4 separate regions of the Homo sapiens genome follow, and regions 1, 3 and 4 are each linked to region 2. The links are contacts of gene promoters, found by promoter capture Hi-C in blood cells and fetal thymus (Javierre and others, 2016). All regions are on one chromosome and are shown on one strand. Each heading gives the region's core, a stretch centred on a gene start or on the middle of the fragment in contact. The rest is flanking DNA. Distances are from core to core; before and after follow the strand shown.

Evidence for each region. Contacts are between HindIII fragments. The CHiCAGO score rates a contact against its expected background, and 5 or more counts as called.
Region 1: a contact is called between a fragment that was not itself captured here and the fragment with the promoter of ECEL1 in region 2, in 3 of 17 cell types (endothelial precursors, naive CD8 T cells and M2 macrophages). The highest score is 7.0, in endothelial precursors.
Region 3: a contact is called between a fragment that was not itself captured here and the fragment with the promoter of ECEL1 in region 2, in 16 of 17 cell types (endothelial precursors, M0 macrophages, M1 macrophages and 13 more). The highest score is 18.0, in endothelial precursors.
Region 4: a contact is called between a fragment that was not itself captured here and the fragment with the promoter of ECEL1 in region 2, in 2 of 17 cell types (M1 macrophages and M0 macrophages). The highest score is 7.1, in M1 macrophages.

What each region holds. Positions count from the first base shown.
Region 1 is chr2:231,865,870-231,868,569 of GRCh38, forward strand. No RefSeq gene overlaps it. Among named protein-coding and RNA genes, the nearest start is that of MIR1471, 25 kb to the right of the region's middle. The HindIII fragment of the contact is 2,901 bases long and covers 1-2,700 here.
Region 2 is chr2:232,486,562-232,489,261 of GRCh38, forward strand. It overlaps ECEL1 (endothelin converting enzyme like 1), which reads right to left and starts at 1,273. Exons shown (of 18, transcript NM_004826.4): 1 at 1,158-1,273; 2 at 1-193. The coding sequence starts at 92. LOC124906124 (a long non-coding RNA gene) reads left to right here and starts at 1,382. Exons shown (of 3, transcript XR_007088123.1): 1 at 1,382-2,398. The HindIII fragment of the contact is 9,213 bases long and covers 1-2,700 here.
Region 3 is chr2:231,893,043-231,895,742 of GRCh38, forward strand. No RefSeq gene overlaps it. Among named protein-coding and RNA genes, the nearest start is that of MIR1471, 2.1 kb to the left of the region's middle. The HindIII fragment of the contact is 3,788 bases long and covers 1-2,700 here.
Region 4 is chr2:231,909,816-231,912,515 of GRCh38, forward strand. No RefSeq gene overlaps it. Among named protein-coding and RNA genes, the nearest start is that of NPPC, 15 kb to the right of the region's middle. The HindIII fragment of the contact is 6,149 bases long and covers 1-2,700 here.

The DNA of each region.
Region 1 (2,700 bases), core at 181-2,680, 620 kb before region 2:
TCTTCTCCATATACATAGTGTTAAAAACACAAGGCACACTCTTAGAACTACTAAACATGCTCAGCAAGGTTATAGGATACAAAGTTGCAGGATCAATATACAAAATCAGTTGTATTTCTATACACCTGTGATCTGAAATCTGAAAATGAAATTATGCAAGTGATTTCATTTATAGCAAGAAAAAATAAAATGCTGAGACCAGCCTGGCCAACATGGTGAAACCCTGTCTCTACTAAAAATACAAAAATTAGCTGGGAGTGGTCGTCGGTGCCTGTAATCCCAGCTACTCGGGAGGCTGAGGCAGGAGAATCGCTTGAACCTGGGAGACAAAGGTTGCAGTGAGCCAAGATCGTGTCACTGCACTCCAGCCTGGGTGACAGAGTGAGACTCCATCTCAAAAAAATAAAAAAATAAAAAATAAAAAGCCTAGGAATAAATTTAAAAACAGAAGTGTAAAATGTATGCTCTTAAAACTACAAAATATTGTGGACATTTAAAAGATTTAAATAAATGGAAAGACACCTTATGTTGATAGATCAAAATACCTAAATATTGTTAAAACGGAAAGACTCCCCAAACTGATCTACAGATTCAGTGCAATCTCCGTCAGAATTCTGCCTGGGTTCTTTGCAGAAATGGACAAGCTGCCCCTAAAATGCATGTGGAAACTCAAGGTCTCCAGAGTTACCAATAGCAATCAAACAAGCAAACAGCCAAAACAATCCTGAAAAAGAAGACAGTTGGAGGACTCACACTTCCTGATTTCAAAACTTACTAAAAAGCAACAGTAAGCAAAATTGCGGTAGTGGCATAAGGTTGGACATAAAGATCAGTGGAATAGAACAGAAGATCCCAGAAATCAACCCTCACATTGACAGTTCATTGATTTTTGATAAGGGTTCCAAAACAGTGAGGGAAAGAATTGTTTTTTTTTTTTCAACAGATGGCTCTGGGACAACTGGATATCTACATGCAAAATATAATCATAATAATAAAGTTGTATACCTACCTCATACGTCTACAAAAATTAGCTCAAAGAGCTAACTGTAAGAGCTATCATAGACTGAAATGTAAGCTAAAACAAATTTTTTTTTTTTTTTTGAGACGGCATCTCACTCTGTCACCCAGGCTGGAGTGCAATGGTGCCATCTTGACTCACTGCAACCTCTGCCTCCCGGGTTCAAGTGATTCTCCTGCCTCAGCCTCCTGAGTAGCTGGGATTACAGGTGCCCACCACGATGCCCAGCTAATTTTTGTATTTTTAGTAGAGACGGAGTTTCACCATGTTGGCCAGGCCAGTCTCGAACTCCTGACCTAGGTGATCCACCCACCTCGGCCTCCCAAAGTGCTGGGATCACAGGCGTGAACCACCACACCTGGCCTAAAACAAATTCTTAGGAAAAAAAAAACCATAGAGGTAAATCTTTGCCACCTTGGATTTGGGAGTGGCTTCTTAGGTATGATACCAAAAGCACAAGCAACCAAAGAAAAAATAGGTAAATTGGACTTTATCAAATTAAAAGCATTCATGATACCAACAAGAGAGGCAAAGACAACCCACTGATGGGAGAAAATATTTGAAAATTATATATCTGATAAGGGACTGGAATCTAGAATATTAAAGAACTCTTTAAATTCAGTAATAAAAAGACAACCCAATTAAAGAATGGGCAAAGGAGTTGTGAAGTTAGAAGCCGAATTCTGTTTTTGATAAAAAGTTATTCTACATGCTAGATAGCAAAGTAGAAAGGACTGTGTTTATTTTTGCCTTGGAATTGCAATTAAAGATCAGTCAAGGAACAAGATACCCAGAAATGATTAAGAAATTCAAGAATATAATAATGGAAGCGTTCTTTCTGGTTTCATTTTTTTTCCTCCTGATGAGAAAGTGGCCAGAAATTAGGCAAATGACTCTTCAAGATTTTTTCCCCAAGGTTTAATCATTACAGTAGTTATTCTCAAAATGCTGTCTGAGAGCCACCCACGTGACAATCACTTTAGGGGACTTTATTTTTGAAGTCCAGCAGTATTGAATCAGAATTTGAGGAGGCGTTGCCCTAACGTCCGAATTTTTAGCTAGTATCAAACTGATCCATAGATATAATAGATTTTTAAGAACTTCGACCATAAGCAAAAGATTGGATCATTCTGTTTTTCTCTTTTCATTTCGTTATTCTTTTCATTGAGATGAGGTCGCACTCTGTCACCCAAGCTGGAGTGCAGTGGTGCAGACCTCGGCTCACTGCAACCTCTGCCTCCTGAGTTCAAGCGATTCTCCTTCCTCAACCTCCCGAGTTCTCTTTTCATTTCTTTTTGTCATTTTCTTTTCTTTGTTTTCCTCAGCATCTACAATTGTGTCCTTTGGGTGGTGTTGGGCTCTCAATTTCAAGAAATTGCCAAGGCACTGATCCCATAATACATGTGGACAAAATCACTAGAATCTTAATATAGTTCGTTCACCTGATTTTAATTTTATAAAACAGAGAAGATCAAAAAAAAAAAAAAAAAGGAAAATTTACTTCTGAACGATTGAGTATTACAAGTCTCTATTATGCTGTCATGATCTTTTATTTATTCAAATTTTGGCCAGGCGCAGTGGCTCACGCCTGTAATCCCAGCCCTTTGGGAGGTGGAGACCGGTGGATCACTTAAGGTCAGGAGTTCGAGACCAGCCTGGCCAACACGGTGAAACCCCATCTC
Region 2 (2,700 bases), core at 23-2,522:
GCCCCGCGCGCGCCCCCCGCGCCGCAGCGGCTCACGTACTTGACCTCTTGGAACTCATCGTAGTGCGCCGTCAGCGAATACGGGGGCTCCATGGCGCCGAGGCCGCCGCGGTGCAGACCTGGGCCACCTGGGCTACGGGATGCGCGTGGCCGCCGGCCTCCTCGTGGGCCTCCGCATGGCCCTGGGGCCGCAGCTGCGGGAAGGGCGGAAGCAGGCTCAGGAGGCGCCGCAGCCGGATGGGGCTCAGGGTCACCGCGAGGAGGGACACAGGCCTGGGTGCAGAGGCCCCAGCCGCGGGCCTCATTCACTGCGGAAACCAGGGACTATGAGGGTTCGGCGGGGCCACCACCCCCGGGTGCACAGTGGAGTCTTCCCCCCTGTCCCCTCCCTGCACACACTTGAGGGCCGCAGGGTTGGGAGGGCTCTTATTGGAAGCAAGAGGCGCCAGGCAAGGGGCCTGGCACGTAGTGGGCCTTCATTGAAAGGTCGTCCCTCTTCCCCTTCGCCTTTCTCTTCCACGACCTGCCCCAGCCAAGGCCGGGTGGAGTGGGGGAAGAAGCGGAGGCTGGAGTGAGGAGGTGCGGTCAGGGGCGCGTCTATGCGACACTTTCAGCTCTCCGCGCTGGACCCAGACAGACGCTCCGCAAAGCGGCCAAAGAACCAAACTTTGTCCTCGCGGAAGTCCGCGGGATCGACCACGCCAACCCCGCTCCCTGGCTCCTTCTGCTCGGTGGCCCGACGGCCCACTCGCCCCTTCCCTAGGGGCGCGCGCCAACGCCCCAGGGTGGCGGACACACAACCCACCCACTGGACGGCCCTGATGGAGAACCCGAGACGGGTTCCCTCCCCCCACTCCCACCATCTCTGTCCCCGCCCCGAGCCACTCCTGGCTTCAACAGGTTCTCCCCAGAACCCAAACTTGGGCGAAGTTTCACCCCCGGCGGGGAGCGAGCTGGCTGGCGACCCCCGAGCCCCGGCGCCGTGCGGCGCAGTCCGCGGAGCCCGAGAGCCGAGCCCGGGAGCCGCAGCCGCAGCCGCAGCCGGAGCCGCAGCCGAGAGGACGCAGACAAAGCCGGGAGGCTCCGCGCAGTGGCGGCGGCGGCGACGGAAGTGGCCGCGGTGGTGGCCTCAGCGGCAGGGACTCGGGCGCCACTTACCCGGCAGGTGCGCGCCCGAGCCGGCGGTGACCGAGCGGGTCGGGCCCGAGCGGGGGCCTGAGCCGCAGCGCAGCCGAGCGGGCGTCCGGTGTCTCCCAGCGCCCGCCGCCTCCTCTGCCGCCGCGCCGAGCCCGCCGCGCCGCCCGCCTGCCGGCCCGAGGGAGGGGGCGCGCCGGCGGCTCCACCCTCCTCCGCCCGCCCCGCGCGCCCCTCCTTCCTCCTGCATCTCTCGGGCCACCTGGCAGTGGGGCGGCAGCGCGGACGTGGGTCGGCGGCCGCGGAGACAGGCTCCCGGGGGTCGTGCGCGGGCTGCGGTCGGGGACTCCGGGTCCAGCCGCGTTCCGAGACGAGTGAGGGCAGCGAGTACTCCCGTGAAGGGTCCCCTCCGATCCAGTGTCCCCACTCCCAGCCGCCCACCAGCCGGCTGGAAAGGGGCTGGAGCTGGAGATGAGGAGCCGAGGACTCCTCCGAAGGGCTGGGGGCGGTGTCAGTAGTGCCTGTGTCTGCCGGCACAGTCCCTGGCGCAGAGCGCACCTTCACTAACCGGCTTTTTTGTCCTCCTTGGAACCCCTGCCCTGGATGGGCTCTCCACTAGGGCTTCTGGTTGGCCTCGCTCCCTTCACCTAGCCCCTGGTGAAGGGAGCTCAGCGGGGACTCCTGCAAGAAGAGGGCTTGCCGCCCCCTTCCCCATCCTCCCCAGCCTTGGGTGGCCCTGGCACCACGGCTCAGGGAGTCCCTGGCCCAGGTAGGAAGAAAAGGCCAAGAGAAGAATGAGCGAAGTCTCCCTGCTGGAGCCAGGGAAGGCTGGAGCCTGCCCCCTCTGGCCAGCAGCCCTAGGCCTCAGACAGGCCCTGAGCCTCAAGACCCTGGTATGTGGACTGATGGGAGGGCAGGCTGGGTGCAGGGACTCTGAATTTACTCACCGCCTGCCTTCTTCCAGGTAAACTGGCTTTTTAAATGTGGGGCCTCCCCACTGCCTGGAGGCAAAGCCCTCTTCTACCTGCCTGCCTGCCTTGGCCAGACAGCCTGGCCCTAATGGGACACAGAGAACTTGGGGCTCCTTGGAAGACTGATACTGTTTCTGGAGTCTCTGCTTTCTCTGCCCTACCCTGCCTCTGGTGTCTCTAGCAGGAGACCCCACAAAGCACCAGCCCTCCCAGGTCTGCCGGCTCCAGCCCGTAGGATTGGCTTAAACAATGTGTGAGAGCCATGGAGCACCATCTAATAAAAATCACAACAAGGTAGGGACTCTGATAACCTACCCATCATCCTGTTCTCCTCCTCAGGGTCTGTGCATCTGCCCAGCTCCTGAGCCCTGGCCCTGAGTGCCGGCCTCTGCCCCTGTCTTGCCTCTCCCTGCCTCTTCATCTCTCCATCTCTAAGCCCCCACTCCGGATACCCTGCCTCCATCTCTGGCCACCCCAGGGTTGTCCTCTGCCCCATGCATCCTTCTTGGGTCCTATTAATTCTAAAGAGGAAAAATGGAATTACTTATAATGTGGCGATTCCATGAAGGGGGGAGGGGAGGGCAGGGAGGTGGCAA
Region 3 (2,700 bases), core at 66-2,565, 590 kb before region 2:
CCTGGCAGTAGAGCAAGACTCCGTCTCAAAAAAAAAAAAAAGAAAGAATAGTAACCACCTAATAGACTTGTGAGGGTTAAAGGAGATGATTTATGCTAATTACTGGAGTAGTGGCTGGCACATGGTAACTGCTTAGTAAATATTAGCTACTTTTACAGTGAAGTAGAGGATAGAAAGGAGTTGCATTTTTATTGGATAACAACCCTAGACATTTTGTGCATTCCAGAGAAAGGTATGAAAAGGAACTTCCTGGAGCTGCCTGGTCTGGGGCGTGCAAGCATCCCTGCTGGCATCTCTCTATGGGTCTTTGCTTCCCCCAAGCATCATGGCTGAAAGGAATTTTATGAACTGTTGCCTTTCGATCTATTTCCAATCTTATGTGCATGCCCTTTGCTGCAAGACGCTAAAGTGTCTCCCACTAGAGTAGGCAGAGTGTATTTCTCTGCTCCATGGATGTTGGGCTTGGCTATACGACATGCTTTGGCCATTGGAGTGTGGGCAGAGTGACAGTATGTCAGTTCCAAAGAGTGTCAGTGCTGCCACCCACCCCTCTTGCACTTTCTGCTTTCCTCCATGGGAAGAACATACCCCAGGTAGCCACTGGCCTCAGAATGAGAGACACATGAAGAGAACTAAATGCAACCCAGGGCCTGAAGGAGAGCTGCTCTGGCCAGCAGGCACATTTGTGAGTGCGATATAGATGATTGCTGCTCTAAGCCACGGGGATTGTGGAGTTTGTTATCCAGTAGGACTCAGCAGAAACCTGGCTGATACAATGTTTTTAGGCTCAACAGGGTGATCACAGCATGAACAGCAGAGTACATGGCTCCAGACATCCTACAAGCTGCTGTCCGAATAAACTTCTAACATCACGCCTTTCCCCCACTGCCTGTATACTTAAGTCCACTCTCCTTTGCTCTACGGTGAAGGCTCTTCTCACTTGAACTGCAACCAAATTTTCCTCACCTGTCCCCTCCTCCCTTAACAAATTTTCCATCCCAGGAGCAGTGGCTCATGTCTGTAATCCCAACGCTTTGGAAGGCTGAGGTGGGAGGACTCGAGCCCAGGAGTTCGAGACCAATGTGGGCAACATAATGAGACCTTATCTCTACAAATAATAATTAAAAAATTAGCCAGGTGTGGTGGCACATGCCCATAGTCCCAGCTACTCGGGAGGATGAGGCGGGAGGATCACTTGAGCCTGGGAGGTCGAAGCTGCAGTGAGCCGTGATGGCACTACTGCACTCCAGCCTGGATGACAGAGTGAGATCCTGGCTCAAAAAAAAAAAAAAAAAAAAAAAAAAAACAGAAATAAAAAACCTAAAACAAAAACAAATACAAAAATCTTCCATTGCAGCCATTCTTAAACCATATGTAAAGTTCTGCTGCTGACTGTTTTTCTCCACCTAACTCCTAAACTTCATGAAGACAACCAGCCGTCCCATTCATCTCCCGCTTCTCTGAACACAGGTTGTCAGAGAGGAATGGGGCCCACCCATGATTCACTCTCACACCCTCTCTGTCACTCTGGTGCCTTCGCCCTACTCCGCTCCATCCCTCTGGGTTAGAAGTAGGATGTGGTACCTAGCTGCTTCTTACCCAGATCTCTCTGACATGCAGTCCTGGTGCCCTTTGTCACCCCATGTCAGCTCTGGGCACCCTCCCTGGTCCATCCTTGTGTTAACAGGACCCAGGTGACTCCTGGCACAAAGGGGGATGTTGGAAGCTGAGGGAATGTTTCCTTGCAGGGGCAACAGAGGCAGAGAAGAGTCCAGGCAGCCTTGAGGCGTTAACGGAGACTGACCTGGAGGCCAGGCCATGTTTGTTAATGAACCTGAGAAGCTGCTGAAGGAGGCCTGGGAAAGCCCCGACTTGACACCTGTGGCTGCTTCGAGCTCCTGAAGGCCATTCTCCCCTGGCAGGTGGATGTCAAGAAACGAATACATTCAAAGAAGAAGGGGAAAGATATGGTTTGAATCTGTGTCCCTCCCAGATCTCCTGTGGAATTATAATCCTCAGTGTTGGAGGTGGGGCCTGGTGGGAGGTGGTTGGATCATGGGGGTGGATTTCCCTCTTGGTGCTGTTCTCGTGAGAGTGAGTGCATTCTCGCGAGATCTGCTCATTTAAAAGTGGGTGGCACCTCCCTGCTGTCTCTCTCGCTTCTGCTCCGGCCGTGTGAGGTGTTCGCTCTCCCTTCACCTTCTGCCATGATTGTAGGTTTCCTGAGGCCTCCTGGAAGCCGAGCAGATGCCAACCTCATGCTTCCTGTATAGCCTGCAGAACCATGAGCCAATGAAACCTCTTTTCAAGTTATCTGGTCTCAGGTATTTCTTTATAGCAGTGTGAGAACAGACTCATACAGGGAGTGAGGACTTCTCTGATCAAAGGAAAGCAGCCACCTGGTTTTTGTCCAGTGGTTCACTGAAAATATTTTACTGAATAAAACTTTTCCTAACTGGCAAGAATGGTCTAGAAGCAGGTTGCTCAAATAGTGGAAGAAGTCCTCTTGAGGTCAAGGTAGTCACTGATGCCTTGACTTAGAACAGCAAAGCCACTACCGGAAAACCTGAACGCGCAAGATCGCAGTTCACAATTCAGAGCAGAGGGCCTGTAGCCCTTCGAGGCCCGAAGCCAGAGAATGCCGGAGGAGAGTTTTATTGCAGGAACTTAAATTTAACCAGCTGGAACTCTTTAAACAAT
Region 4 (2,700 bases), core at 136-2,635, 580 kb before region 2:
AGATGTTTGTCTTCAGGCCTAACGGTCAGAGAGACCTTCTCATTACAGGAAGGGACCACAAGGGGAATTGTTGCCAGAGGACGGATGTGGCGGCCTAGGGGAAATGGGCTTTGCAGGATCATAAAGGAAGCCTTAAAACTTTGATAATGACAACAACAGAAATTGAGCAGCCATTTCTGTGGCTTTTTTTTTTCTTTGAGACAGAGTCTCCCTCTGTTGCCCAGGCTGGAGTGCAGTGGCGCAATCTCAGCTCACTGCAAGCTCTGCCTCCCGGGTTCAAATGATTCTCCTGCTTCAGCCTCCCTGGTAGCTGGGATTACAGACATGCACCACAATGCACGGCTCATTTTTGTACTTTCAGTAGAGATAGGGTTTCGCCATGTTGGCCAGGCTGGTATCGAACTCCTGATCTCAGGTGATCTGCCTGCCTCAGCCTCCCAAAGTGCTGGGGTTACAGGAGTGAGCCACCACGCCCAGCCCTGAGCAGCCATTTCTGTGGCTTTTGGACGTGAAGATGTGCAGGGAGGAAAGCCTGTGTGGGAAGGAGCGCTTCCTGCGGGGGCGGGGGAGGTCTCTCCTTCTTCATGTGCCTGCCACTCCCTTAGAAGAGACCTCTCTTGGGCAGTGTCTTGGAAGGTAGGGTGGCCAGCATCCATCAAGGGACAGAAGCTAATGTCCCCAGGCCAGCCACATTGGTTTGACTTGCTGATAACAGAATGTGGTCCTCTGTGCCTTCTGCAAAGAGCCCTCCAGCAAACTTCTGCCAGCACCTGGGACATTCCAGGAACTGGGCTAGATGTCGGGAACACCAAAACAAGAAAGGCCCCATTCCTGCCCTTGAGGGAGTTGCAGCCACCTTTGGGGTATAGCAGAGCATCTTGGCTCTGCCCAAATGGGACCGCTTTTATGGACCAGGGAGTTCACGGCTCTTCGTAGGCATTGACAAGCACAAGGACCCGTGTTGCTTGGCTGGTGGAGGTGGAGAGTTTGCGGGGTGTGTTGGGTAGGGAATGAGAACACTGTGAAGACAGAAATAAGCATTTGAAGAGGAAGGAGGGAGTGGCTTGGGGTCATCTGCCACCCTCCGCCTCTGCCCCTCCCCACCCACCTGTATTGACTTCATGCTTGAAGGCCAAGCAGCTGGTGGCAGTAGCCCATGCGGCAGCTCATGTGATACAAAGACCACAGATTCAGCCCAGCAGCACCACTTAGACAGTGTGAGACTCAGAATCCTCCCCCACTGCAGCCCCAGAGCTGGGCACCCCGGGAGCTCAGGAGGACCCAGTGCAGGGCAGCATCCCTGGGGGGAATTGCCAGCATGCAGGGTCCAGGGTCGTCTCTGAGGGCTGTGAGCTGTGGACTATCAACCTGAAGGAAAAGGGAAGAAAGCAAATGGGCTTGTCATGTTCACAGGTGAGGTGTCTCTGGCATTTCCCTGAAGCCATGGAGGTGACTGTGAGGAGGCGGCACAGTCCTCCAGGCTGTTGTGATTTGGGTATCACTGTTCCTGGGACTGAGATTTTGCTTGCAGTTTGGGAAACCCAGGCACTTGGGTGGCAGAGGTGCATGACCTGGTCTCATAGTGACCACAGCTCTCTACCTGTCAGGCTTAGAGTGAGGATACGGGTCATCTCATGCCATCCTTGTAGCAGCCCCCACGAGGTAGTACTATGATTGCTTCCAGTTTACAGAAGCTGAGGTTACACTTGGCCAAGTTCCCCTAGAAAAAGGAGTGGTGCCAGGAATGACCTGGCCACCTGACACCTTGGCGTGGGTCCCCCTCCCCTGTATGCAGCTTAGGGAACATCGCTCCTGGAAAACGTCTAGTCTCACACACAGGGTGGGGCTCTGAGTGCAGGAGTCTTTATTCTAAGAGTCTTTCTTCTATTTTGAAGTAACTTTTTTTTAGTCACAGCTTTATTTTGATATAGTTCACACACCGTACACTTCACCCATTTAAAGCAGTGAATCCAAATTCAATGTTGTTGGGTTTTTTTTTTTTTTTTTGAGACAGAGTCTCACTCTGTCGCCCAGGCTGGAGTGCAGTGGTGCGATCTCTGTTCACTGCAAGCTCTGCCTCCCGGGTTCACGCCATTCTCCTGCCTCAGCCTCCCAAGTAGCTGGGACTACAGGCGCCTGCCACCACGCCCGGCTAATTTTTTGTATTTTTAGTAGAGACGGGGTTTCACCGTGTTAGCCAGGATGGTCTCGATCTCCTGACCTCGTGATCTGCCCACCTCGGCCACCCAAAGTGCTGGGATGACAGGTGTGAACCACCGCGCCGGGCCTTTTTTTTTTTTTTTTTTTTTGAGACACAGTCTCGCTCTGTCACCCAGGCTGGAATGCAATGGTACGATCTTGGCTCACTGCAACCTCCACTTCCCAGGCCCAAGTGATTCTCCTGCCTCAGCCTCCCGAGTAGCTGAGATTACAGGAACCCGCCACCGCACTCGGCTAATTTTTTGTATTTTTGGTAGAAATGGGGTTTCACCATGTTGCCCAGGCTGTTCTTGAACTCCTGGCCTCAAGTGATCCACCCGCTCAGCCTCCCAAAGTGCTGGGATTACAGGCATGAGCCACCATGCCTGGCCTGTGTTTTATATCTTTACAGAGTTGTGCAACCATCACCACGATCAATTTGAGGCTGTTTTCCTAACCTTGGAAGAAATCCTGTACCTATCAGCAGTTACTGCCTATTTC